Linked DNA regions of Homo sapiens: regions 1, 3, 4, 5 and 6 are each linked to region 2. The links are contacts of gene promoters, found by promoter capture Hi-C in blood cells and fetal thymus (Javierre and others, 2016). All regions are on one chromosome and are shown on one strand. The core of a region is centred on a gene start or on the middle of the fragment in contact, and the rest is flanking DNA. Distances in the headings are between cores, read along the strand shown. Region 1 overlaps MIA3 (MIA SH3 domain ER export factor 3). Region 2 holds the start of RAB3GAP2 (RAB3 GTPase activating non-catalytic protein subunit 2). Region 3 overlaps MIA3 (MIA SH3 domain ER export factor 3). Region 4 holds the start of GPATCH2 (G-patch domain containing 2). Region 5 has its middle 3.1 kb from the start of TRT-TGT2-1. Region 6 holds the start of TAF1A (TATA-box binding protein associated factor, RNA polymerase I subunit A).

What was found. Contacts are between HindIII fragments. The CHiCAGO score rates a contact against its expected background, and 5 or more counts as called.
Region 1: a contact is called between a fragment that was not itself captured here and the fragment with the promoter of RAB3GAP2 in region 2, in 1 of 17 cell types (total B cells). The highest score is 5.3, in total B cells.
Region 3: a contact is called between a fragment that was not itself captured here and the fragment with the promoter of RAB3GAP2 in region 2, in 2 of 17 cell types (monocytes and naive B cells). The highest score is 10.8, in monocytes.
Region 4: the fragment with the promoter of GPATCH2 here is called in contact with the fragment with the promoter of RAB3GAP2 in region 2 in 4 of 17 cell types (total CD4 T cells, non-activated CD4 T cells, total CD8 T cells and 1 more); the score reaches 8.5 in total CD4 T cells.
Region 5: a fragment that was not itself captured here is called in contact with the fragment with the promoter of RAB3GAP2 in region 2 in 1 of 17 cell types (total CD8 T cells); the score reaches 6.2 in total CD8 T cells.
Region 6: the fragment with the promoter of TAF1A here is called in contact with the fragment with the promoter of RAB3GAP2 in region 2 in 5 of 17 cell types (activated CD4 T cells, naive CD8 T cells, total CD8 T cells and 2 more); the score reaches 7.8 in activated CD4 T cells.

The regions. Positions count from the first base shown.
Region 1 is chr1:222,666,189-222,668,888 of GRCh38, forward strand. MIA3 (MIA SH3 domain ER export factor 3) reads left to right here. Exons shown (of 28, transcript NM_198551.4): 28 at 1-1,819. It overlaps AIDA (axin interactor, dorsalization associated), which reads right to left. Exons shown (of 10, transcript NM_022831.4): 10 at 1,825-2,700. Among named protein-coding and RNA genes, the nearest start is that of AIDA, 45 kb to the right of the region's middle. The HindIII fragment of the contact is 924 bases long and covers 910-1,833 here.
Region 2 is chr1:220,271,132-220,273,831 of GRCh38, forward strand. It overlaps RAB3GAP2 (RAB3 GTPase activating non-catalytic protein subunit 2), which reads right to left and starts at 1,322. Exons shown (of 35, transcript NM_012414.4): 1 at 1,092-1,322. The coding sequence starts at 1,206. The HindIII fragment of the contact is 3,718 bases long and covers 1-2,700 here.
Region 3 is chr1:222,644,902-222,647,845 of GRCh38, forward strand. MIA3 (MIA SH3 domain ER export factor 3) reads left to right here. Exons shown (of 28, transcript NM_198551.4): 7 at 653-784. Among named protein-coding and RNA genes, the nearest start is that of MIA3, 28 kb to the left of the region's middle. RefSeq lists an enhancer at 1-155. The HindIII fragment of the contact is 1,853 bases long and covers 604-2,456 here.
Region 4 is chr1:217,629,729-217,632,428 of GRCh38, forward strand. It overlaps GPATCH2 (G-patch domain containing 2), which reads right to left and starts at 1,362. Exons shown (of 10, transcript NM_018040.5): 1 at 1,188-1,362. The coding sequence starts at 1,243. SPATA17 (spermatogenesis associated 17) reads left to right here and starts at 1,616. Exons shown (of 11, transcript NM_138796.4): 1 at 1,616-1,718. The coding sequence starts at 1,651. RefSeq lists enhancers at 1,301-1,370, 1,401-1,640. The HindIII fragment of the contact is 9,292 bases long and covers 939-2,700 here.
Region 5 is chr1:222,460,435-222,463,309 of GRCh38, forward strand. No RefSeq gene overlaps it. Among named protein-coding and RNA genes, the nearest start is that of TRT-TGT2-1, 3.1 kb to the right of the region's middle. The HindIII fragment of the contact is 4,058 bases long and covers 1-2,875 here.
Region 6 is chr1:222,588,655-222,591,479 of GRCh38, forward strand. TAF1A (TATA-box binding protein associated factor, RNA polymerase I subunit A) reads right to left here and starts at 1,279. Exons shown (of 11, transcript NM_005681.4): 1 at 1,073-1,279. It overlaps TAF1A-AS1 (TAF1A antisense RNA 1), which reads left to right and starts at 1,266. Exons shown (of 3, transcript NR_110613.1): 1 at 1,266-1,308; 2 at 1,604-1,753. RefSeq lists enhancers at 1,246-1,779, 1,780-2,312. The HindIII fragment of the contact is 1,624 bases long and covers 927-2,550 here.

The sequences.
Region 1 (2,700 bases), core at 122-2,621, 2.4 Mb after region 2:
GCCATTTGGGGAACATGTAAACTCAGGCTCCCAGAACTGAAGATGGTGGCTGGTGGCACACTTCCGGCTGCTCCTCCGTCACCTGTGAACTCTACAAGTGACGTCTTTTTATTTCAAAGAAGTTTATTTCCCACTTGTATAGCATTCACATGCTTTCTTTACGATCCTCATTGTCTATTTGAGAATGGTTTTCTGAGAGTGAGTTTACATTAGTAGCAAGAGTTGTTTGACCTGATGTTCCATTGTTTTTACCATTCCTGTAGAAAAAGGGTGCACAACAGAAAAATGAAAATGATGTGTCATGGCCATAAAAGTATAGAAATCTTTAAAAATTTTAAAATGTACAGTCCCTTATCTATCTTTCCCATTCCTTGCCACTGATTTTTGAGGAATATAATAAAAAGATTGGAAGAGTATAATGCCATGAGAAAGAATGATTTAGGACTGTGAGGGTTATAACATGCCCTAGGTCAGCAACCAAGGGTTGAAATCAGTTCTGTTTTAGGGGGAAATGGGGGCGACAGATATTATTCCAAAATTAATATTAATTAATATTTAAACGTTGGTGTTTTTATTTAAAAATCAGTAACTAACCATCTGGAATTGCACCATACTTAAAGTCTTATCCATTACTACACTGTCTTTAAAACAATGTTTCTTTAAATACTCTACAACGTTTCTAAGAACGAACTTCAGACATTTTAATTACAGTAATAATAGCACTCCTTTTAAGGAGTTTCAGATCCACACTAAAACTAAAATCATAAAAGGCTGATACTTTTGTTTGCTGCTAGGCTATATTCTTCCATTCTTTGAAGTCCTATGATGTAATATTTTTGAAACCTAGTGTATGTCTTGTCACTGTTGTGATATTTAATCGATTAAGAATACCTTGTAAAAAGGAGCAAAAGCTTCAATGTGAAACAATTTTCTCTCTTTATACTAAACAACTGAAGATAGATAGTTTAGAAAGATAAGGACCTTTGAAAGAAGACAACTCTGTCAAAGTTCATAAGGAATATAAAAATTCTTCAGGAAAAGAGAATTCAATCTATATGTCCTCCCGTTTAATATCAAGAATAGAAGAAATTAAGAGGAAAACTCCACAGAAGAGCATAGGCCACTTTTAGCCATGTAAAAATAAGATTAAGTCACAAATACAACTTTTGAATTTACCTGTCAATATCTCTTTAGGACACAAAACAATGCTGAAGTTAATATAATTTCTAATTTTAAATGTCATTTAAGTGTAGATTATGCCATCTAGGAAGGTAAGTAGGAAAGGTAAATTAAATCTATTTTTAAAATTCAAAATATTAGAGTATTTTTCCCCTCTAAAGCCTTTTTTGGTGATTATTCTGTATCTGACATAATTGAGAAACTGGTAAGCTGTAAAGATTCCAGTGTAGCTTCTCTGAGAAGTTGTGAGCCAGTCCATAACTGCTTCCTCACATCCATCTGATTGCACCATTTCTGCAGCAAACCCCAAAGCAGGGTGCCAATATGCAGATGGCATAGGGAGTATCATCCCTCAGCCAAATCACTTTTCCATCTCTAAAGTTTCATCTATTTTGGAAGTCATCTCCAACTAATTGTGTCTGGATTTAGTTGCTAAAATTGTCTTATTTATGAAGCAGCAATATTCAGCCTGAAAGCATTTCTGCCATAGTTGTTGTAGTTATATCGCCAATGGCTGATTTTTTTCATTGGAAAGTAAATTTAAGTAATTCGTGGGATGTGGTATATTCTGTGTCAACTTCAAGATAATCACTCATTTTCTCGTTATATTCAGGTCTGAATTAAAGTTAAGTTAATCACACAGTGTTCAATTTAAGCTTCTTTAATGTTGATGAAAGGTATTTGTAGTTCATATAAACTATACTTATGTGAAGGATAGCAGATGCTTCATATAAATTATCATTTTGATATACATATCTTATGGTTTATGAGAAAAGAGAAAAAATAATACATCGGTTTTGCTACACTTTAATGGGTTTTTTTTTTAAGGGATTTTTTTTCAGGTCTTGTCAGCAACATCAAACAAAAGGTACTGAGTACTCCACAGGGTACAGAGTGCTGCCAAGCACCTTAGAAAAATTACATGACACGGAGAAAATGCGCCTCTTGCTCCTTGAAGAGCTTACAGTCTAGGGATTTGACAACTCACAGTCTTAGGAACTGGGCAAAGTAAGGCAAATTCTTCATCCCCTAGAGCTATTGTGGACTGAATCATTTTAGAATTTGGAATTAATCCAATCAAGATGAGAGACAAGACTAAATTTGGCTGAGAATTCATTCAGGCTCGCATAGTTTTTATTAACATCCGTCTAGTAAACAGAATGGACCTAACAGACAACTGAAAGTAAAGACTAGATCTCTTGAAGTGCAAGGGCTACAACAACTTAGTTGTGGTTACTTATTTTAAAAAGCAAACATACTGAATGGTATGACTAGGGTGATTACACTAGTTTAAAAATAGGCCAGGTACTGACACTGCATTCCCCTCATGCATTGCTCATTTAAAATAGTGAATATTAAAATATGTGGGCTTTACATCTAACCCACAGAAAGCCCACCGCAAATGTTCTGTGTATCAAATATCCACCTCATGTGTACTATGAAAGTTTTATTTATGCCCCATTAAGTCAAAAGTAAATTATAGTAAGCTAATGACCTGCATATTTTCATATGGATGAATGT
Region 2 (2,700 bases), core at 72-2,571:
AGTTCCTACAGCAGGGTCCACCAACCTTATTTGGTTTGTAGCACCAATGACTGGCACAAAGTATGCAATCATTCACAGATGGGTTCGATTTGATATCTTCTAAATTTTCTAAAAAAGGGAGAGGAGCTTAGTGGGCTTTATATCACCATTCCGGTATAGCACAAAGTGAGAGCGCTGTACTACAAAGCCAAATGTGCTTCAGGTTGGAAATGCAAAAATAAAATAAAATAAAATAAAATAAAATAAAACACAAGGCACACCCTTTCAAAATGAAATGTACGAAATTCTGAAAGCCTATATAGTATCTAATAAACCAGCCTTGGAACTTTATACTACTTGGGGAAAGGCTTATTAAACACTTTGATGATAAAAATAGGTGGAAGGCTTCAATAAAGCAAATTAACCTTTCTTGGCTATGTCACTGTAATTTTAGTTCCTAATGTAGATTCTCGTTCACTTCCTGACAGGTTATTTTCCTTCTTTGAGAGAGTCTTACCTCAAGAGTCACTCATTTGTCAGCCATTTGTTCTCAAAATCTGAATGGGGGAAATGCAGATGAAAGAAGGGAGAGTGTGGGGGGATGATCAACACTTTCGGAATGGGAGGTAGCAGAAGGCCACAGTCTCCGGGATGGAAGAGAGTGGGAGCTGGGGCAATACCAGAGTGGAGCGCTGACATGTGGCAAGGAACGGGGAGGATGCGATCACGGAGCAGGCAACATGAAACAGGGAACGACCCCAGGCTGAAGATGGGAGACGGAGAAGATACTCAGAGAGAAAGCTAGGAATGTGTGGGGGTGGGGGGAGGGAGGGAGAAAGCGGTGATAGGCAGAGGCGAGAGGAAACAAGACGCAGTTTTTAGCCAGGGGTCAGAGGGCCTAAGGAGAAAAGCTGGGTCGAGAGGAAGACAACACAAATGGGGCTTCAGGACGAGGTGGGCAGGGTGTCATCCCGGAGCGGAGGGGAGGCACGGGGAGAACTGGGGGTCCAGAGGGCAGAGGCAGGAGGCGCAGAGCGAGTAGGAGACTCGAACCCGTGAGCAGAGGCCGCGGGTGACGAGGGAAGGAAGGGCGAGGCCAGAGAGGCACTTACTGGGGTCCCTCCGCAAGGCGCCGCTGAGGATCTCCTCCCGCAGGTGAGGAAAGAGGAAGTCCCGGGCGGCCTGGAGGTCCTGGAAGTAGCAGAACTGGACAATGGAGCAGGCCATGGCTCCAGGGAACCCCACTACGGCACTCACCTTACCTCACCACGCCCTGCCCCCTCCACCCCACTGCGGCCGCCACCGAGCCCCAATAGCTCTAGCCAAGCAGAAGGCGGAGAAACCAAACCGGAAGCTGTCACTGACACGGGTCCGCTGTCTCCGAGTACTGCGCAGGCGCAGGCTGGCCCAGGCGCCTAGGGCGCGGGGGCCCGGGTCACGTGACTACGGCGCCGCCGCTGCAGGTGGAGCCAAAGTCGACGTGGAGGCTTGGGGCAGATTTTTCAGTCCCAGTTGTGTGTCTACGCCGAGGCATGAACCCTTTCATTCATTCTGGCTTTTAGCCAGAGGTGTTCTAATTGGACTTGTCCGCGCAGCCCTTTGACTTATTCAGTCTTATTGGTCCCCTACTATTGGCACGATCCTGATGTTTCACAGAAACTAATTCGTTTTAAACTAGTGGCAGGCCAGTGGGGGACCGTATCCTGCAAGAGTCGGATTTTGAAAAGATTAATTGCTCTTCCGGAGATTAGCCCCGTCAAGGCTGGCTTTAAATGCTCCTACTATAGATTCCCATAGTACTACGCAAGCCCAATATAGTACGTGTTATAGTGTATTATACACTTTTGTTTTCATTATTCATTTGGTTTTTCATTCATGCATTCATCCATCCATTCAACAAATATTTGTTAGTCTTTTAAATGCCAGCCACGCAGGGTGCTGAGCATTAGAGAACAAAAGAGAAGAAGTACCTTTTCCCAGAAAGCTGGAATTCTAGTGACTGATACAGGCAGTAAGCAATTAATTACAGTATTTCCCTTTAATCCAAGGGGATATGTTTTAAGATCCCCAGTGGATGACTCAAACCATGGATAGTACTGAAACCTATGTATGTGTATTATGTTTTTACCTATACATATATATGATAAAGTTAAATTTATAAATTAGGCACAGTGAAAGATTAACAATAACTAATAATTAAATTGAATAATTATGTGGAAAATGAACCCATGGATAAAGGGGGGACTACTGTACTTAACTATTTAACTGAAATTGTGATCATGCTAGTAAGTGCTTCATAAATATTTGCTGAAGAAATAAATGGAATGCATACATAAAGTAAATAGAATAACTTGTTTCTTTGACAAAGCACTATTTTTGAAAGTACTTTACATTGTTCATTTGGATAGTCACAAATGCCATCTAAAAATAGTGTGTCTTATCCCATTTTTAAAATAAAGAAATTGAGCTGTCTCTGAGCAGACTTTAAGTTATTTTTCCAAAAAATAAAAACAAAAAAAATTATTTTAATGTGAGCACAAAGGCCTGTAGGCACTTACACATTTCCTAAAGGAAACCTAAAGAGGCCATCCACTTTGTATGAAAAAAGGGCACAGGAACAAATGAAAGGCAAGTGGATGGGGTCCAGAGCATTCATTTCTGTCAGGCCCGTGGACATACACACTTAGTCCTAATAATATAACAACTATAATTTAGTGCCCA
Region 3 (2,944 bases), core at 280-2,779, 2.4 Mb after region 2:
CAGTGTGATAGTGTACTTGTAAAGGGCTGTGGAAACAGCATAGAGCAGACAGGTGTTTAATGCACTGTTTTCAAGGAAACATTTAGAATTAAGGCACTAAATTCAAAGCGGTTTATCTAGATCAGTTATCAGGAGCTATCCGAACTTAGTCAGCATTTGTTCTTTGTTTATGTAAGTCGATTTAAGATTTTAAATCTTAGAGGAATAAAACGTTATTTGTGATATTCATTATCATCATATTGGTTTTATTTGCAGCCATAAAAAGTTAGTTACTTGTATATAAAAGGTTTTTTGTCTTATGTGGTTTTTTAAGCAATAAAAACCAATTTATTCAAGACAAAAGTATGATGCAGAGAGATTCCAGCCATGTTTTAGATAACATATTGTATCAGGGCCTATTGAAACTAGAAATATATGCCCAACCTAAAGACATTTAGAGTCATAGTACTTCAAAACACCACAGGCCAAACAATAAGTATGAGACTCCCAGTATCCTGTTTTTCTTAAAGCAGTGAGAGCTACTGAAGATTTTTGAGGGGATAGGTATCTGATAGAGTTGGTTTAGAATTTCTGTGAATGAGTCTTTGTGACTGCTTTATGGTAAGCTTCTTTAAGGTTTCTCATTATTTCTAACATTATTTCTAACATTCAGCTAGTTGCTACATTGCCTGATGATGTTCAGCCTGGGCCTGATTTTTATGGACTGCCATGGAAACCTGTATTTATCACTGCCTTCTTGGGAATTGCTTCGTTTGCCATTTTCTTATGGAGAACTGTCCTTGTTGTGAGTAAATTAATGCATACTTTAACTCATAAATTCAAGTATGGTTTTATAATCACAGTCCTTTTGTTTCTTTTTCAGTTTCTAATATGAACAGAAATTAATGCTTTTAATTCAAGCTAACCTTGTAAAATAATTTAGTATAATTTTTGTGTTGGTAAATTCTTAAGTGAATAAGACAACATGTATAATCTCAGTGGGAAAACTTCAGTTTATATGTCTCATATCAAAGTCTAAATTTTAAGAATTAGGTGGGTCTGTATTTCAACTCACAAAGGATGAAAAGAAAGAATTAGATAGGTCATATGTACACTGTTAGTAGAACTAGGAATTCTTAGAGCCATCCTGAAAAATAGTTTCATGATGTGTATGATAAGCCTTAAAAATGGTTATATCCTTTTATATTGTATTAATGTCATGTCTAGTAATCGATCCTAAAGAAATAACCAGTCAGCCGGCACAGTGGCTCACACCTGTAATCCCAGCACTTTGAGAGTCCGAGGCAGGCGGATCACTTGAGGCCAGGAGTTCGAGACCAGCTTAGCCAACATGATGAAACCCCATCTCTTCTAAAAATACGAAAATTAGCCAGGTGTTGTGGCACATGCCTGTAATCCCAGCTACTCGGGATGCTGAGGCAGAGAATCGCTTGAACCTGGGAGGCGGAGGCTGCAGTGAGCTGAGATGTGCCACTGCACTCCAGCCTGGGTGACAGAGTGAGACTCCATCTCAAAAAAAAAAAAAAAGAAAGAAAGAAATAACCAATCATGCATTAAATATCTTACATGGCCGGGCGTGGTGGCTCACACCTGTAATACCAGCACTTTGGGAGGCGGAGGCGGGTGGATCACATAAGGCCAGGAGTTTGAGACCAGCCTGACCAACAAGACAAAACCCCATCTCTACTAAAAATACAAAACTTAGCCGGGGGTGGTGGCAGGAGCCTGTAATCCCAGCTACTTGGGAGGCTGAGGCAGGAGAATCGCTTGAACTGGGGAAGCAGATCATGCCACTGCACTCCAGCCTAGGCGACAAAGTGAGACTCTGTCTCAAAAAAAAGTTTTAAATATCTTACATGAGAGCATTCAGTAGAACAGTATTTATTAGAGTGAAAACTTTGACACAACCTACTGTGATTCACAGTGGGAAAATTGTTAAATTATTGTATGTTCATATAATGGGATATTAGGCTGCTTTATATAATTCAAAGACATAGGAGCACAACAAATACTCACAATTTAACATGAAGTAGAAAAAAAGTAGAAACCAAGACTTTAAGGTATAGATAAACTGTATATTACATAAACATACACACAGAAAATAAATGCTGCAAGGAAATACAATAAAATGATAAAAATTCTTATATCTAGGAGATGAGGTAAGTTTTCAGTTTTTAAAAAATGTGTATTTTCCAGATTTTCTGATTTCATCATGTACTATTTTACTCAGAAAATATCTTTTTATTTCGAAATGCAAATTATATCATGTGTAAAGACACACCGTTAATTTTTTTATCTTCTGTGCAGAATTTGCCTTTCAGACTTAAACATGTTTGTATAAGTGTGTATACTCATACTTGTACATCCTTATGATTATACTATATAGCATTCAGCTGCATAGTTATTTAACATAATTGGGAGAAGATTATTTGTGTAAATGAGCTTTGCAGATGAAAAGCTTTGTATTGAAACTTCACAGTTAAAATGGCCAAAATTATTGGATGCAAATCTTTCTAAAACTGAGTACTCTTTTTCTGATTTCATAATTATATCACATATATCATCATTAATAAATTTTCTCTCACAATTGATTGTAAAATTACTTAAAAAGAAGGGTCTTTTTTCCTGTGAGGCCTTCTCTAACCTCCTGGTGCTTTTCTTCAGATAAAAAGGGAGAATCAAAGGGTAAATGGAAGGGGAAAAGTTGAAAACATTTTACATTTCCCACTCTTGTTTCTCCTATTTGTTAATAAAAAAATTCTAACGCCTTTTTCGTTTTTCAGAAAGTTATATAGGCTCTGTGTCCTAACTGCTGTTCCTCAGCCTCAGCACTTGACTTTTGGAACCTTGGTCTCTGCTTGCCTGTTAGTTTGGGTGAAATGGAGCAGAGGAATTAGCAAGGCCATGACATTAGAGAGATAGTAATTTCTTTCCATGTTGGAAT
Region 4 (2,700 bases), core at 112-2,611, 2.6 Mb before region 2:
CTAGTTATACCATTAAAAACTGGTTCATTTAAAAAATGCTCCCTACTTTTCTCACTGGAAAATGTAATAATTTACAAATAGTATAATCAAATCTATATTCACTATAAAATTAACTACAGGATGATCAGGTCCAACTAGAAATATTTTGGATAAGGTATTCTTTTAACTTTTCAGTGATAGGTGATGGAAAAGCAATTATCTGAGATCACAGACTACTAGAATTCCTCATGTTCTAATTTTTGCAGAATCTAGGAATGAACACGCACCATTTAGCCACATTTCTTTCACCTGTTGGTCAGAACTTTATGTTTGAGGATTTTCAATGGGAAATTGCTTGTTTGTGTCACTGGTTGTCTTATGTTATGTTTGGAGGAAAAGGGCTTGGGAGAAAAACAGGACAGATAATACAGAGTGTTCAACTAGAAATCCCCAAATCAGGATTCTAGCTCTAGGATTAAAATGTACAGGGCAACTTTGGACACGGTACTTGAATTTTCTGTGCTTGTGATATTCTGCTATCACAAGGCTGTCATAGGATAAAGTGTATTAATTTGTGGAAATACTTTGAAAAGTCAAAGCAATATATTATTCTAACATGATACCATAGACATAGTCAAGCCCCAAACTTAATCCTGACAGTTATAGGTTCTTGGAAAGCCCCCATACATATCTCACTTTAACTTGAATAGAATGTTCAAGAGGGTGGAAACAGGTAGGTTACCCTCTCTCTTTAAAAAAGGGGGTGAGAGGGTGATGTGTTTTCCACGATTGAACTTCCAGAACTCTAGATTTCTGGAATTTATCTTCCAAAAGACTTGGTATAATCTGGTAAATATTGAAAGAGGAGTGGGGAATAAGGCCCGGATTAAGATAAATTCTTCCTGTCCCTAGTGTTGTCAACAATCAATGAGGAGATGAATTGCTCCTGGAGTACAGGAAGCTTGACTTCTAAAATATTGTTAAACAAGCAATCAGAAAACATTTACTGTATTCTTTCACAAATCTTTGGCACACACCCAAGAGCTCCCTCAAACTGCGTGCATCCCAGGAATGAGTGAGAGCAAGGCCTAGATGTCTTCAGATCATCCATCACAGCTCCCTCCCGCCTCCATTCCAGGTCCAGCGGAGCGGCCTCGGGCAATCACACCCTTCCCTGACCTCCCCCTCCCCAGGGCCGCCAGCCTCACCAGCTGTTCCCGGCTGCTGGAGCTCCGATCGGTTGGCGCCCGGCGGCCCCGAACATTAACGACACCCGGGAGCCTGGCCTCGAAGCTCAGGCCCGTGAACAGACTCCAACTACAACAGCACCGGCGACTTCCAAAGAGCAGTTCAGCATTTTGAGATGAGCTTCCGGAAGCCGACAGGCGGCGGAAACCGGATGCCCGGAGCAACCATTAGTTCTCCGCGTTTACTGCTTTCCCCTTCCTATAATCCCCTCTTCCTACTCGCAGTAGAGACAGAGACAAATAAATTAAACTTTTGTGCTACACAGAAATTTCTTAATTCTCTTTTTAGTGCTCTTAAAGTCAAAGCAGCATGAGAGAAAAGAGGAGTGAACAAAAAGTCGAACCCCGGGAGTGAGCTATGGTTTAGCCCAGTTACCATGGAGACCGGTAGTAACACCAGTTGTAAACCCAAGGCCAAGAGACCATGGCCACGTTAGCCCGGCTGCAAGCTAGGTCGTCGACTGTAGGAAATCAGTACTACTTTAGGAACAGGTAAGTCAGGAAGAGAAGGATCGCGTAAAGGGCGGGCGTGACTTTATACCAGTTGTTCCTCAGCGGGAGTTTCCAATTAACGATTTAACGATTACCCTAATTCATTAAGTAGTACCCAATTCTTCCCTTAATGGGCTGCAAACATAATTGGGAGTTTCTGTTACCATACAACGAAATTCTAAATAGAGAGGGGCCGTAGATATTCAGTGTGAGATGATTTAAGGAAACTCCCAGCATAGATAAAATTGTAAAGTGCTTTTTTTCTTCGACATCACCACTCTGCAATTTGATGAAACCTATGTTCAATACCCTGACTGGGGGTCACCCTGACTCACTAGCCCAATGAACTCAGATTGTGTCCCATCTACCTAGGGATTTGAGCCTCCGTTATTTTACAAACATCACTAAACTCAATTGTTCTATGACTCATTCGCCTTTTTAAAATGAACGTATCTGCCGGGTGTGGTGGCTCACGCCTGTAATCCCAGCACTTTGGGAGGCCGAGGGGGGCGAATCACCTGAGGCCAGGAGTTCTAGACCAACCAGGACAACATGGTGAAACCCCGTCTCTATTAAAAATACAAAAACTAGCCGGGCATGGTGGCACATGCCTGTCATCCCAGCTAGTCCGGAGGCTGAGGCAGGAGAATCGCTTGAACCTGGGAGGCAGAGGTTGCAGTGACCCGACATTGTACCACTGCACTCCAGCCTGGGTGACAAATTAAGACCCTGTCTCAATAAATAAATAAATAAATATAAATAAAATAAAATAAAATGAAAGTGTCTAAACCATTCTGACACGGTAACTAGTACCAATATATTAATTAATAGATAACGGGTAAGAAAACCACTAGCAGTCTTCTTCATCTCCCTACAGCCAAACTTCTTGCCCAGGAAGAGTTTCATTTTAAAGAAGCATTGCCCCAGGAGTTTTTGTAACTTAAAAGAAACTGCAAAAAAGTGAATTAGACTATTATGGAAT
Region 5 (2,875 bases), core at 288-2,787, 2.2 Mb after region 2:
TCTGCAAAGCTGAGAAGTGGGTTCCTGGGAGGTGGGCAGGCCCTTGGGGTATGTATGGGTCAGGAAGGCAGTGGAAGAGAGAGTTTTAGGAGGAAAAGCAGTCATCGGCACCACGTGCTGCCAAGACACCAAGGCTTCACCCACATAGAGCTTACCTAGTGCCAATGAGGGTCATTTTGGTGGAGCTGTAGGGCCAGAAGACAGATGGGGCAAGTGGAATGTGTGAAAGGTAAGGGTCAGAGTGAATGTGTGGGGACAACTCACTGGAGTTGAAGGGCAGTTTTTATTTTATTTTATTTTATTTTCCACGAGAGAGACACAGAAGCAGACGGGAAGGATCCAGTTGAGCATGAGAGGTTGAGTGTCCCAGGGATAAAGGGCATAGTGGTCCTGCAGGGGTCCTCAGAGGGAAGAGAGGACTGGGCCAGGCTTGGTGGCTCATGCCTGTAATCCCAGCACTTTGGGAGGCCGAGGTGAGCAGATCACCTGTAGTCAAAAGTTTGAGGCCAGCCTGACCAACATGGCAAAACCTCGTCTTTACTAAAAGTACAAAAATCAGCCGGGCATGGTGGCAGGCATCTGTAATCCCAGCTACTCAGGAGGCTTAGGCAGGATAATTGCTTGAACCCAGAGGCAGAGGTTGCAGCGAGCTGAGATCATGCCACTGCACTCAAGCCTGGGCGACAAGAGCAAGACTCTGTCTCATAAAAAAAAAAAAAAAAAAAAAAAAAAAAAAAAAAAAAAAAAAAAAAAAAAAGAGGGCTCTCACTGGGGAGAGATAAAGCTCCTCTACCATAATCGAAGGGCAGGCAGGAAAGTGAACCTGGCCGCACAGGTCCAGGTGGGCAGTCCCTGAAGGGAGGTGAGGCTGGACCTGTGCTGACCTCTTTGCACCCAGCAGCACATTATATCCTGAAAGTGTGTACCCTCCTAGCTCCACTTCCCAGGTGAACAGGAGCTTCAAAAGTTAAGTAATTTTCAGAGGCTGGGAAGGGGGACTGAAGAGAGGTTGGTGATATACTCTGGTTCTGTGTCCCCACCCAAATCTCATCTTGAGTTGTAATCCAAATTATAATCCCCATGTGTTGGGGGAGGGACCTCATGGGAGGTCACTGAATCATGGAGATGATTACCCTCATGCTATTCTCGTGATAGTGAGTGAGTTCTCATGAGATCCAATAGTTTTATAAGGGGCTTTTCCCCAGTTTTGCTCGGCACTCCTCCTTCCTGCTGCCATGTGAAGGACATGTTTGCTTGTTTGCTTCCCCTTCTGCCATGATTGTAAATTCCTGAGGCCTCCCTAGCCCTGTGGAACAGTGAGTCAATCAAATCTCTTCCCTTTGTAAACTACTCAGTCTCGGGCAGCTCTGTATAGCAGCATGAGAACAGACTAATACAGTTGGTCAATGGGTACAAACATACAGTTAGATAGAAGGAATAAGTTCTAGTGTTCGATGGCACAGTAGGGTGACTATAATTATCAATAATGTATTGTATATTTCAAAATAGCTAGTAGAAAAGATTAGAAATGTTCCTAGCACATCATTTCACCCATGATGAAGTTCAAGTTCCTTCTTCTCATGAAGTCGCAGCTTTTTTCTGGCACTAGATAAGCTCAAAGGTTCCTTCTGGCCCTTACATCCTCATACCCTCTGACCTTGAGTCTGACTTTGGACAGGACAGTAGAAGGTCTGCTCCCAGGAGGAGAGGATGCACGTGGGACAATGACTCAGAGGAGAGCCAGACAGCCCCTACACCAAGTGGGTGGGAGAGCCTTCCTGGGCTGTCTTCTGTTTCCCACCACCTCAGGGATACCAGGGATTCTATGGGGAAGGGGAGAGGATGTAGGCAGGGGACAAAGGACAGAATGAGGGTGAAGGAGGTGAGAAAGCAAAGCAACTATCTTCTTAAGGCAAAAAGAAGTCCCTTTAACACACAAAACAGCTGAGGGATGTGGCTGGGACTTACTAGTTTTCATCTCCTTTCCCTCCCAACAAAACTGGACCGTGGGATGCCTTCCCTCCTGGCAGTGCCAGAAGCTGGAATCTCTCCACGTGGTTTTCTGCTGAGGGTTGACCATAGACCAGAAGTAAATGCTCAACCTTTGAAGAACATTCCCTTTTATGTTCGTTTCTGGCATTTCACAGTTTCCTAGCACTCTCAGGTTCACTATTGTGTTGAATCCCTCAAAATGCTCTGAAACAGAGAGGCCAAAATTATCACCTCCATTTTACAGTCTTTATAGGATGTCTACTTTATCTTTATTTCATCTTACCATTTAACTTTGTGTCCTTTTTCTTACAGTACAGAAATTGGAATTGAAAAGAGGAGAGGTTCCATTTGTCTATCACATGCTACCTCCTGCTGCTGGGAGATAACGTGCATCAGTATTGGGAGGAGGGGTCGAGGGTGGTGCTGTGCCAACTCAAGGGAATGGAAGAAGGGAAATTCAAAATTCATTTGTTGAAGTCCTAAGACCCAGTCCCTAAGAATGTGACCTTATTTGGAAAGAGTCTTTTCATAGGTAATCAAGTTAAAGTGAGGTCAGTAGGGTGGGCCCTAACCCAATCTGACTGGTGTCCTTATAAAAAGGAGAAATTTGGATACAGAGCTATACATAGAGGGAAGATGATGTGAGGAGACACAAGGAGAAAATGGCCATCTACAAGCCAAGGAGATCCTTCCTTCACTGCCCTCAGAAGGAACCAGCCCTATCAACACCTTGATTTCATACTTCTAGCCTCCAGAGCTAGAAGATAATACAGTTCTGTTGTTTAAGTCACCTAGTGTGAGGTATTTTGTTACAGCAGCCCTAGCAAACTAATACACTCCTCAAAATCGCCTCTGAGATGGAAAATAAGCCAGCTCTCTAAGG
Region 6 (2,825 bases), core at 29-2,528, 2.3 Mb after region 2:
ATAAATATAATTTGATTAGCAAAATGCATTATACCTGTCAGCTCTTTTAAAGTAAAAAATGAATTTAACTATGTCAGCAACAGCCAAAATGAATGATCCATTAAAGACCGAACCACTAATGTTTCAAGTCCATGTAAAGATAAATAAGATACTGCCCCTCTAATTTAAAAAATCTCAAGTCTAGACGAAGAAACAGCAAAACGTATAATAACAAAACAATATGAAAAGTACAGTAAGAATAGAAGTAGCAGCTAATATTTATTAGGCCCTTACTATGCACTAGAAGTATAAATTATCTAATTTAATCCCCACAGCAATCCTGAGGTGGGTACTATTACTTTCTTCCATGTGAAGGTTGAAAAAACTGAGGGGCTTAGTGAAATGATGGAACCTGCCTAACATCACAAAAAATGGTGAGGACGATAGTCTAGGAAATAGAACACCAAACTACTTGGCATGACTAGAATTCGAGGTGCGTGTGGAGGAGGGGTGCGGAAGGTGAGAAACGAACCTAGAAAAATCATCATAAGCCAAGGTGAGTTTAGACTTACTCCTAAAGATGCTCAGGGCCCCTTCCTCATTACCCATATGAAATCGAGTATTAGTGCCCCTGATACTACCTCCAAATTTCCCCTATTTCCCCTCTTCAATCCTACAGCACTACTCTAGTTCAAGACCCCTTCAAACAGTGCCTAGATTACCGCATCAGCTTTCTAAACAATTACCCTGGCTCAGATTTTGCATCTCTGCATTATACCCAGAGTAAACCTTCTAAATTCAAAGCATGTGGCTAGGAGTATGAATTATAAGTAACAACTGAATTTGAATCCGACCCATCACGTGTTTTCAGGAGTAGTTACACAAATCCTCCCTTTCCAAATCCTCAAAAACCCAAATTGGTGACCCGCAGTTGCCACGGCAACCAAAGCTTCTCTATCCCCTTCTTTCGTTTTCAGACCCCAAGGGTTTCAGGTATTAGGAGGAAATATCAGGAGAACATGGATGAATCCTGACACACCCCTTCCCGTTCCATTTAAACGCAGGAACCACGGGCGATATCTGCGGCACTTACCCGCCTAAATTTAGAGCTCCTCAGTAAAGCTAAACTCAGTCTCCGACTCCGGCCCACGTGAAGAAATTCCCACCGGAAGACGAGTTAGGAGAGCTTTATATGAGCAGGCGCTAAACCTGGTTTAGGTATTTAGGCAGCGCGCGGCCCGGCTCGTAACTCCTCCTGCTGCAGCAGGCGTATCGTTGGCCTCGCCTCGACCCCGGAAGTGACTTCTGGAAGTGACCCAGGAAGTGACAGTGAGCTGCCTCTCTGCGATTGGTTTTGCCCGAGTTTTATTTTTGTCTGTCTCAGCTAGAAAGTGGGAGACTTTCATTTAAAATGGAAATTGGGGCGAGGGGTTGGCGGCTGGGCGAAGGGAGCATTCAAAAGCGGAGAATGTCACTTTACCCGAGAAATTCACTACGATGGGCCATTGGTTTCTGCTCGGCTCGCAGGCGCACTGCACGAGTGGAGGTGTGGCTAGTGGCTGTGATGAGATAAATCCATGCATAGCCTTTTCATTGCGAGCTTGAAAGTTCTTTTCTATTACAGTTTTAGCTTTAGGTTTAATTGGTTCGACTGCCTTCTCCACAATTTGGGCGAGAATTTCCTTTGCCTTCTCAGCAAAAGTTGTTCTGCGGACCCGTCTGGGTCAACTTTCATGAGGGACATTGAGACAAACAAATGAAATATGGGTTAAAGGTAAGATGGTTAAACCGTGTGAAATGAGAGACAGTTGAGGGGTTCTAGGGAAGATGATCCCGGAAAAGGACTGCAGGCCCATGGAAACGCAGTGTGCTTCTCCAATATTTGGAGGGCTGATCAGTGAAAGAAGGATCAGACCCTTTTTCTTAGCAGCAGAGAACAGAACTAGGACTAATAAGTGAAAGGTAAAGGGAGGCTGCTTTCAAGTCACAGCAAGAAAGAATTTTGTCCACAAATGAGGATGCACAAATATAGCATAGGCTCCCCCAGGAATCACTGAGTTTCCTCTGTGTAGGTGAACAGTTTGAGTAGAATCGGAGTATCGGAGAGGAAATTAAAGGGTCTGGTAAGAGTTTGAGGCCGGGCGCGGTGGCTCATGCCTGTAATCCCAGCCCTTTGGGAGGCCGAGGCAGGCGGAAAGTTTGAGCTCAGGAGTTCGAAACCAGCCTAGTCAACATGATGAAACCCCGTCCCTACAAAATAAAAATAAAAAAAAATAAGCTGGGGTGATGATGCATGCCTCTAGTCCCAGCTACTCGGGAGGATGAGGTGGGAGGATCACCTGAGCCCAGGGAGGTCGAGGCTGCAGTGAGCTGTGATCACCCTACTGCACTCCAGCCTGGGCGACAGAATGAGACCCTGTCAAAAAAAATTTTGTACATGGATTCCTTAAAATGCTACAAATAGTTGATTCTATGTTGTCTTCTGCATAAAACAATATGCAGTAGTTAAGGACTTGCAAGAAAAGTTCCTTCTGCTGCTCTCTCTGTCATTAGTTCTTGAGTCCTCACTCAAGCTTGTGCTCTAACTCTACAGGCAGGGCTAACATAAATTATGCGTAGTCCAGGAGACCACACACAAAATAACATACATAATCATTACTTTCTTGTCTAGAGGCTTAGTCTGGCTACTTTTCTCCCATTGGCTTGAGGTGTAAATTCACCAAAACCAGCCCAGAAATGATTTTACATGGAAAAAAGTTTATGTTCTCCCGAAAATGAGGAAGAGCTTTCAGATTTTCCTCGAAGTTCTCAAACAGCTCTAAGGAGCAGTAGGAAACGTGCCCTAC